3 separate regions of the Homo sapiens genome follow, and all the other regions are linked to region 1. The links are contacts of gene promoters, found by promoter capture Hi-C in human tissues and cell types (Jung and others, 2019). All regions are on one chromosome and are shown on one strand. The core of a region is centred on a gene start or on the middle of the fragment in contact, and the rest is flanking DNA. Distances in the headings are between cores, read along the strand shown. Region 1 holds the start of RRP12 (ribosomal RNA processing 12 homolog). Region 2 overlaps UBTD1 (ubiquitin domain containing 1). Region 3 overlaps HOGA1 (4-hydroxy-2-oxoglutarate aldolase 1).

Region 1 (2,909 bases), core at 111-2,610:
AGGAGTTCGAGACCAACCTGGCCAACATGGTGAAACTCTGCGTGTACTGAAAATACAAAAAAAAAAATTAGCCGGGCGCGGTGGTGCATGCTTGTAATTTCAGCTACTTGGGAGGCTGAGGCAGGAGAACTGCTTGAACCTGAAATGTGGAGGTTGCAGTGAGCCGAGATCGTGCCACTGCACTCCAGCCTGGGCACCAGAGCAAGACTCTGTCTCAAAAAAAAAAAAAAAAAAGAGAGAGAGAGAGAGAAATTGGAGAACCAGGGATTAATTAGGGATGGAATGCTGTCATAAGGCAAGGTGGCTTAGCAACTGAGTATCTCCAGTAATAAATGAAAATAGCAAAGCTTGTCTAGAACACCACTGACTGCTTTTTTCTCTTTTCAAGTCAAGCTAATTTTCACACTTTCAAGTCTCCATAAGTTTTGACTTTTCTTTTTTTTCTTTTTTTCTTTTTTTGAGATGGAGTTTCACTCTTGTTGCCCAGGCTGGAGTGCAATGGCGTGATCTCAGCTCACCGCAACCTCTGCCTCCCAGGTTCAAGCGATTCTTCTGCCTCAGCCTCCCCAGTAGTTGGGATTACAGGCATGCGCGACCACGCCCGGCTTATTTTGTATTTTTAGTAGAGACAGGGTTTCTCCATGTTGGTCAGGCTGGTCTCGAACATCGTGACCTCAGGTGATCTGCCCGCCTCGGCCTCCCAGAGTGCTGGGATTACATATATACTTTTATATGAAGGTATATGACTTTCATATAAATGTGTTTCTATGCTTAATTTTGAAAATAGATTTTCAAATGTAATATAAATGTACTTTTTGTTGTTGTTTAACTGCAAAAGAACTCCAGTTTTTTGTTTGCTTTGTTTTGTTTTTTTGAGACAGTCTTACTCTGTTGTCCAGGCTGGAGTGCCGAGGCGTGATCTCGGCTTACTGCAAACTCCGCCTCCCGAGTTCAAGTGATTCTTGTGCCTCATCCTCCCGAGTAGTTGGGATTACAGGCGCGCGCCACCAAGCCCAGCTAATTTTTTTATTTTAGTAGAGACGGGGTTTCACCCTGGTGATCAGGCTGGTCTCAAACTCCTGACCTCAAATGATCCACCCGCCTCAGCCTCCCAAAGTATTGGGATTACAGGCATGAGCCACCACGCTCAGCCAAACTCCAGTTTTATAAGGCTTACGCCTGTGGCCCTGAAACCTGGTCCTGGCTGGAGTAAGAACCCCATAGAACCCTTAGCAACCTAACTTCCTCCCTAGCAACGGATCTCCTTGGAGCTCCTCCCCATCCGAAGCCAGGAGGAGGTGTAAAACCGGATGTTGACTGTTTTACCATAGTAATGCACACGAATCCGGAAGTGACGCCAGAAGAAGAGGAAGTGAAGGCTACAGGGTATCCACGTGGGTTCTGAGCGTGTTTCTACGTCCCTGGAAGCCGGTCATTTAAGCTCATTCCTCGCCACGGCTTAGTCAACATGGGTCGCTCGGGAAAGTTGCCTTCTGGTGTCTCAGCTAAGTTGAAGCGCTGGAAGAAAGGCCACAGCAGCGACAGCAACCCCGCCATCTGCCGCCACCGTCAGGCCGCCCGCAGCCGCTTCTTCAGCCGGCCGTCAGGTAGCTGGGTTGAGACCCGAGCGCAGCCGGGGGCGGGGTTCCAGGCAGACCTGGGTCCAGATGAGTCTGGGGCCTCTGGGAGAGTGCGGGGCCAGGCATTGGACCTTTCGTCTCTTAGGATGTCGGATCTGGAGCCCTCTCTGAAGGGCAGTCCTTCCAATTTAGCAGATACAGAAACTGAGGTCCGCAGTAGGGAAATGTCTTGTGTAAGGTACCGCGGGTGTCAGAGTTGAGACAGATGGCTTGGACCTTGGGTAGCTCTTTACAGAGCGCGTTCACCTTCATTTATTTTGCAGGCCCTCTGAATGTAGCTCCCAGCCGATTCCCAGTGGCGTTTATGCCGCTGCTACAGGGAAGCAGAAACTTTTACATGGAGGATTCCCTTTCTCCTTGGTTTTTCAAGTTTTTAGGCATACAGTGGTTTTATGAGACTGGCTGTGTTCAGAATTCAGCCTCTCGGGTTGGAGATTTGGCCTGGGCTGGTTTGTTTCCCAGGGGTTGTTCTGTTCTCTTGACCAAAAGGAGGCTTGGACCTTATCTTGTGCCTCTGGCTCTCAGGAAGGAGTGACCTGACAGTCGATGCTGTGAAGTTACATAATGAGCTGCAGTCAGGGTCCTTGCGCTTGGGCAAAAGCGAAGCCCCGGAGACGCCCATGGAAGAAGAGGCGGAGCTGGTTCTCACCGAGAAGTCCTCGGGTACCTTCCTGAGTGGCCTTTCCGACTGCACAAACGTCACCTTCAGCAAAGTACAGCGCTTCTGGGAGTCCAACTCGGCTGCCCACAAGGAGGTAGGGGCGAGGGTCGGGAGGGCCATAGGATAGTGAGGAGAGGCCAACTCATGCCTTTTCTTCAGCTCTGGCCGACAGGTCTCCGATGACAACAGCTGGTATTTCTGGATGATGCGTCATCGCTCCTCCCCTTTATGTCTCCTCCTAGGGCAGGTTCTACTTTCTGCTTTTTATAAGAACATCTCCTCTGCTTAAGTACTTGAGGGTAGAAATATTTTCCAAACATTTCTCTCCTCAGCTATACCTAACACAGCACTTTTACACAGAGTATTTTCAATAAACATATGTTGAGTAAATAAATGCTGAGTAACAGTGATTAGGAAACGTTTTATCTAGCAAGAACTAAATTTATTTACTTTAATTTAACTTAATTCATGTATTTATTTTGAGACAGAGTCTCGTTCTGTTGGCCAGGCTGGAGTGCAGTAGCGCAATCTTCACTCACTGCAACCTCCATCTCCCAGGCCCAAGCAATCCTCCTGCCTCAGCCTCCCAAGTAGCTGCCATTACAGGC
Region 2 (2,715 bases), core at 32-2,531, 130 kb before region 1:
TGCCCAGGCTGGAGTGCAGTGGCTCAATGTCTGCTCACTGCAACCTCCGCCTCCTGGGTTCAAGCGATTCTCCTGCCTCAGCCTCCAGAGTAGCTGGGACTACAGGCACATGCCACCACGCCCAGCTAATTTTTTGTATTTTCAGTAGATATGGGGTTTCACTGTGTTAGCCAGGATGGTCTCAATTTCCTGATCTCGTGATCTGCCCGCCTTGGCCTCCCAAAGTGCTGGGATTACAGGCGTGAGCCACCACACCAGGCCAAGTAATTTTTTTTTAATGGAAATGCTAAGACCTAGCTGTTGTTTAATGGAAATGCTAAGACCTAGCTGTTGATATGTCTTATCAGCATATGGGAACTAGCCGTTCACACGGAGCTGGTAGCAGGCCAGTCCAGAAAGGAGGCTTTGGCCAACCTGGATGGTGATGCCTCTGTGACTTGGTTTCTTGGGGCCATGAGACAGAGGAGGTGAGAGATATGGCCAGAGTGAGGAAGAATGGGCAGAAAAGCCCAGAAGCCCCCAGCCTCCAGAGTCCAGGTGAGATTTCTGCACTGCCCACACAAACCCTCTTCTTCCAGGCAAAGAGGAGTGTGGGCCTCAAGGGGGTGGCAGGGAGAAAGGCCGCCCCCTCCTGGCCAATGAGGGCTTTCAACAGAGGGCTTTAGAAAGGCTGGCTGAGTGCCGCTTGGTGGGGAGGCGGGCAAGGAGGACTGAGAGCTTGACATCATTTCTACTCTGGGCAGAGGTGTGGGCTGGAGTCTCTGCCAGGGGTCAGATGGTGGCCCTTGGAGGCTGTGTGCCTCCCAAGCAAACTGGCAGCTCCCAAATGGGCCCAAGTTTGTAAAGACAGTGTTAGCATCTGCAAGGGAAAAAATCTGGAGGAACACACACCACCTTTTCTACCCCAGAAGTGGGGTAGTGGACCTTTCACATTCTAGGATATATATTTGTGCATGTATTAGCTTTTTTAGGAGTAAGGGTGGTGTGTGTGTGTGTGTGTGTGTGTGTGTGTGTGCGCGCGCGCGTGTGTGTTCCTTAGTGCCTTAAGCTTTGGCTTGAATGTGGTGTGGTAGAAAATCTTGAGACTTAGGGGGAAACGCAGTAAAAGATCCTTGTCATGACAAAGTGGAGAAAGCTTAGCCAGGACTTGGAGTGTCTTCTACAAGGTACCTCGAAGGAAAGACTGTTTCTAGCTGCCTTGGATCAAACAAAGCTCCCATTTAAGCCGCTTTGTGCGAATTGTACCACAAACAAGCTGTAAGGGCAGGGCTGGGCCCTCCCCATCTCAGTCCCAGGGCTCAGGCCAATGATCCGCACACAATAGGTGCTCAATAAAAGCTGACAGAATGAACCAGCGAGTGGACCACATGGGAGGTGGTGAGAGCTCTGGTTTCCTGGGAAGGGGGTGAAGTGGGAAAGGGCCCAACAGAGGAGCCCTGTGGAAAGGCAGAAACCAGTGGAACCCTTGGCAAGCTGTCCTCAGACCTTTGTCTTAGGGGAAGGCGGCAGAAGCTGGCCAGAAAAGGTTGCAGCTGGTCCTGCCTGCAAGGTTTCCAGGCAGTAGAAGGCTTCAGGGCCCCGCTGGCCTAGGGCAGATGGGCTGTGGCCCACATCACCTGCCCCTCCCAAGGCGAGTCTGATGAGGGCTTAAGATTTTTTTTTTTTTTTTTTTGAGATGGAGTCTTGCTTTGTCACGCAGGCTTCAGTGCAGTGGCGTGATCTCAGCTCACTGTAACCTCGACCTCCCAGGTTCAAGTGATTCCCCTGCCTCAACCTCCTGAGAAGCTGGGACTACAGGTCTGCACCACCACACCCAGCTAATTTTCGTATTTTTAGTAGAGACGGGTTTCACCATGTTGGCCAGGCTGGTCTCAAACTCCTGACCTCAAGTGATCTGCCCGCCTCAGTCCCCCAAAGTGCTGGGATTACAGGGTGAGCTACCACACCCAGCCCAGAGCTTAAGATCTGTGTCAAGCAAGGGCTGAGTCAGACTTGGTGGAGGTGGGGGGCAAAGGGGGATGCTGCGAAGAGGGAGGGCAGACAGATCAGGCCTCATTCCCTCAGACACGCTCCACCAGCCCAAGGCCAGGCAAGAGCAGCCTCCTCGTACCCTTCTCCCACCCGCTATGGCGTAGAATATAGGCGGCCTTCCATGGTGCTGAAACCCAGGAGAAAGCAAAGCCCCGGGAAGAAGTCTCCCTTGCAGACAGGATGCAGTTGGTAGCTGTGTGCTAGGAGACCACCACCTGTTTTGGCCCAAACGTCCTCCCTTCATAGATGCCAGACAGGCTCTAGCAGTGGGTGGGGAGGAGAAGGCAGCAAACCCGGGGCAGCAGGAGGTATCTGCTTTCAGCACAGTCACCAAAGGGTCAGGGAGGGAGCCCTATGGGCTCAGCTCCCAGCTGGTGGAAAAGGCATCCTCTCAGTTTCAGCTCAGCTGGAGGTCAAGAACTGCTGAGGCTGGCAGCCCTGGGCAGGGGATCCTATTTGCTTGCAAGTGAGCATCTTGTCGCCGTGGTGACCCAGGGAAACACCATGCAGGAGTCAGCCACAAGGCCAGGAACAGAGCTTTCCAGCTGGGAAAGTGGATGCAAAGCACTCCTCCTCCCCTGGACCCTGACCATGGGCCAGGCACTGTCCTACCCACATGGACTGCGAAGATGCGCCAGACTCCAGGCTGCCCTTGGTAGGGGCCCGAGACACACCGGAAATAAG
Region 3 (2,923 bases), core at 346-2,845, 190 kb before region 1:
AGTCACATCACATCTTTGAGTCTGTTTCCTTTTCTATGGGATGACAGTGAAATCATTTCAATCCTAGCTTATAGGACTGTTTTAAAGGATAAGAAAATGTCCCAGAAATCTGTGAGTGGGTACCCCAAAGAGCCCCTCCTTCACCCTGGTTAGATGTCCAGGTGTGAGCCTGATGTGTCCCTGTTAGTGTAGAGAGGGGGCCAGAGGAGAGGAAAAGGCCAGGATCTCCAATGAAGCAGGGACTGGGGAAAAAGCAGAAAAGCAGAGGGCTCACAGAAGAGGGGTCAGATGCACAGGCCCTGAAGTCAGAGAAGCCCAGGCTAACTCAATTAAAAAATAGTGATGATATTAGTGCCTTTCTCAGAGTTTTGTTTTGTTTTGTTTTGAGACAGAGTCTCACTCTGTTGCCCAGGCTGGAGTGCAGTGGTGCGACCTCGGCTCACTGCAGCCTCTGTCTCCCAGGCTCAAGCAATTATCCTGCCTCAGCCTCCTGAGTAGCTGGGATTACAGGCACCTGACACCATGCCGGCTAATTTTTGTATTTTTAGTAGAGACAGGGTTTCACCATGTTGGCCAGGCTGGTCTCGAACTCCTGGCCTCAGGTGATCCGCCTGCCTTGGCCTCCCAAAGTGCTGGGGATTATGGGCATGAGCCATCACACCCAGCCTCTCAGAGTTGTTTTGAAGTTTAAATGAGATACTATTTATAAAGTACTTCGAATAGAACCTGGTGCTCAATAAGTGTTAGCTGTCATTCTTATGGAGTCAGGAGAAAGTGCTCAAACCTTAAATCAGGAGGGTGGCTGGTGTTGAAGGGGAGGCTGCTCTCAATGACCTCTCATTGTACACCTACTGTGATATTAGGAGTGGGTGTACAAGGCCCCCTCCAGCTGTAAGACAAAGGAAGATACTCTCCCCTGCCCCCATGATTACACTTGCTGCTCTGGGAGCTGGGGTGGCAGTGAGGGGAGTGGGCGTTTGGGGCTGGGGACACATAAGCAACATGGTGACTTACTGTGGCTAAAAAGAATCACATAAGGAGTGTCCCCAGACATTATTATGCGTTCTTAGTCCATCATCATTGCCACCTCCTCTGAGAAGTCTTCCTGGGATCTCTCCACTGGGCCTCCCTGCTCTGCATTTCCGTTACCTGTTCCTTGTATAATATTTCCCCATGGACAGCACCCATCTACAAAGGTCCCTAGAACTCTTCAATCCTCCACCCCCACCCCCATGTGTGGGATTAGACACAATTTTTCAATCTGACCTCTCCTATAAAATAAGAAATTGGGCCAGGCACAGTGGCTCACACCTGTAATCCCAGCACTTTGGGAGGCCAAGACGGGTGGACTATTTGAGGCCAGGAGTTCGAGACCAGCCTGGCCAACATGGTGAAACCCTGTCTCTACTAAAAAAAAATTAAAATTAGGCCAGGCACAATGGTTCACACTTGTGATCCCAGCACTTTGGGACGCCGAGGCGGGCGAACCACAAGGTCAGGAGTTCAAGACCAGCCTGGCCAACATGGTGAAACCCCGTCTCTACTAAAAATACAAAAATTAGCTGGGCATGGTGGCAGGCACCTGTAATCCCAGTTACTCAGGAGGCCGAGGCAGGAGAATTGCTTGAACCCAGGAGGCAGAGGTTGCAGTGAGCCAAGATTGGGCTACTGCACTGCAGCCTGGGTGACAGTGTAAGACTCTGTCTTAAAAAAATAAAAAAAATTAAAAATCAAAAATTAGCCAAGCATGGAGGCGCGCACCTGTAATCCCAGCTACTCGGGAGTCAGAAGCAGGAGAATTGCTTAAGCCTGGGAGGTGGAGGTTGCAGTGAGCCCAGATCGCACCACTGATCGGTAGCCTGGGTGACAGAGTGAGACTCTGTCTCAAAAAAAAAAAAAAAAAAAAAAAAAGACCAGGCGCAGTGGCTCATGCCTGTAATTCCAGCACTTTGGGAGGCCAAGGCAGGCCAATCACTTGAGGTCAGGAGTTCGAGACCAGCCTGGCCAACGTGGTGAAACGCTATCTCTACTAAAAATACAAAAATTAGCTGGGCGTGGTGGTGCACGCTTGTAATCCCAGCTATTCGGGAGGCTGAGGCAGGAGAATCGCTTGAACCCGGGAGGCAGAGGTTACAGTGAGCCGAGGTCGTGCCACTGCACTCAAGCCTGGGTGACAAGAGTGAAACTCGGTCTCAAAAAAAAAACAAGTTGACTGCCATGGTTCCCCAGACACTGCACTTCCCTCCCTCTGCACCCTTGCTTGTGTTGTTCCCTTCTGCCTGGAACACCTTCCAAATGCGGGCCAACAAGCTCAAGTCGGCTACCCAGCATTCTGTTTTCCTTGCCCAGTGCTTGCCTTACTTTGCCTGGATGCATTCTGGCCTCCTGTGTGGTGCCTAGCATAGGTGTTGAGGTGTGTGTTGACAATTTGTTGTGCAAAAGAAAAAGAAGTTCTTTATTTTTTTCTGCCCTGGTCTGCGGCCAAAGTTTTTTGCATGACATAATTCATAACCTCCCTCTGGAAAGAAATTACATTCCTGATGAAATGCTTAAGCATTTTTGTGATGAACTTTATTTATTTTTTTCTTTTTTATGTTTTTTTTGAGACAGAGTCTGGCTCTGTTACCCAGGCTGGAGGGCAGTGGCATGGTCTCGGCTCACTGCAACCTCCACCTCCCAGGTTCAAGCAATTCTTCTGTCTCAGCCTCCCGAGTAGCTGAGATTACAGGTGCCTGCCACCACACCCAGCTAATTTTTTGTATTTTTAGTAGAGATGGGATTTCACCATGTTGGCCAGGCTGGTCTCAAACTCCTGATCTCAGATGACCCACCTGCCTCAGCCTCCCAAAGTGCTGGGATTACAGGCGTGAGCCGCCGTGTTCGGCCCCCAATGAACTTTAATGGAATTAAGACTTGATCTGGA

Evidence for each region. Contacts are between HindIII fragments. The study calls those that stand out against the background at their distance.
Region 2: a contact is called between a fragment that was not itself captured here and the fragment with the promoter of RRP12 in region 1, in 1 of the 25 tissues and cell types used here (bladder).
Region 3: a contact is called between a fragment that was not itself captured here and the fragment with the promoter of RRP12 in region 1, in 1 of the 25 tissues and cell types used here (aorta).

The regions. Positions count from the first base shown.
Region 1 is chr10:97,399,791-97,402,699 of GRCh38, reverse strand. It overlaps RRP12 (ribosomal RNA processing 12 homolog), which reads left to right and starts at 1,360. Exons shown (of 34, transcript NM_015179.4): 1 at 1,360-1,607; 2 at 2,166-2,395. The coding sequence starts at 1,469. RefSeq lists an enhancer at 1,827-1,876. The HindIII fragment of the contact is 11,530 bases long and covers 1-2,909 here.
Region 2 is chr10:97,532,880-97,535,594 of GRCh38, reverse strand. All of the region lies in intron 1 of UBTD1 (ubiquitin domain containing 1), which reads right to left. Among named protein-coding and RNA genes, the nearest start is that of UBTD1, 35 kb to the right of the region's middle. The HindIII fragment of the contact is 3,452 bases long and covers 1-2,715 here.
Region 3 is chr10:97,593,157-97,596,079 of GRCh38, reverse strand. All of the region lies in intron 1 of HOGA1 (4-hydroxy-2-oxoglutarate aldolase 1), which reads right to left. Among named protein-coding and RNA genes, the nearest start is that of C10orf62, 4.9 kb to the right of the region's middle. The HindIII fragment of the contact is 5,729 bases long and covers 1-2,923 here.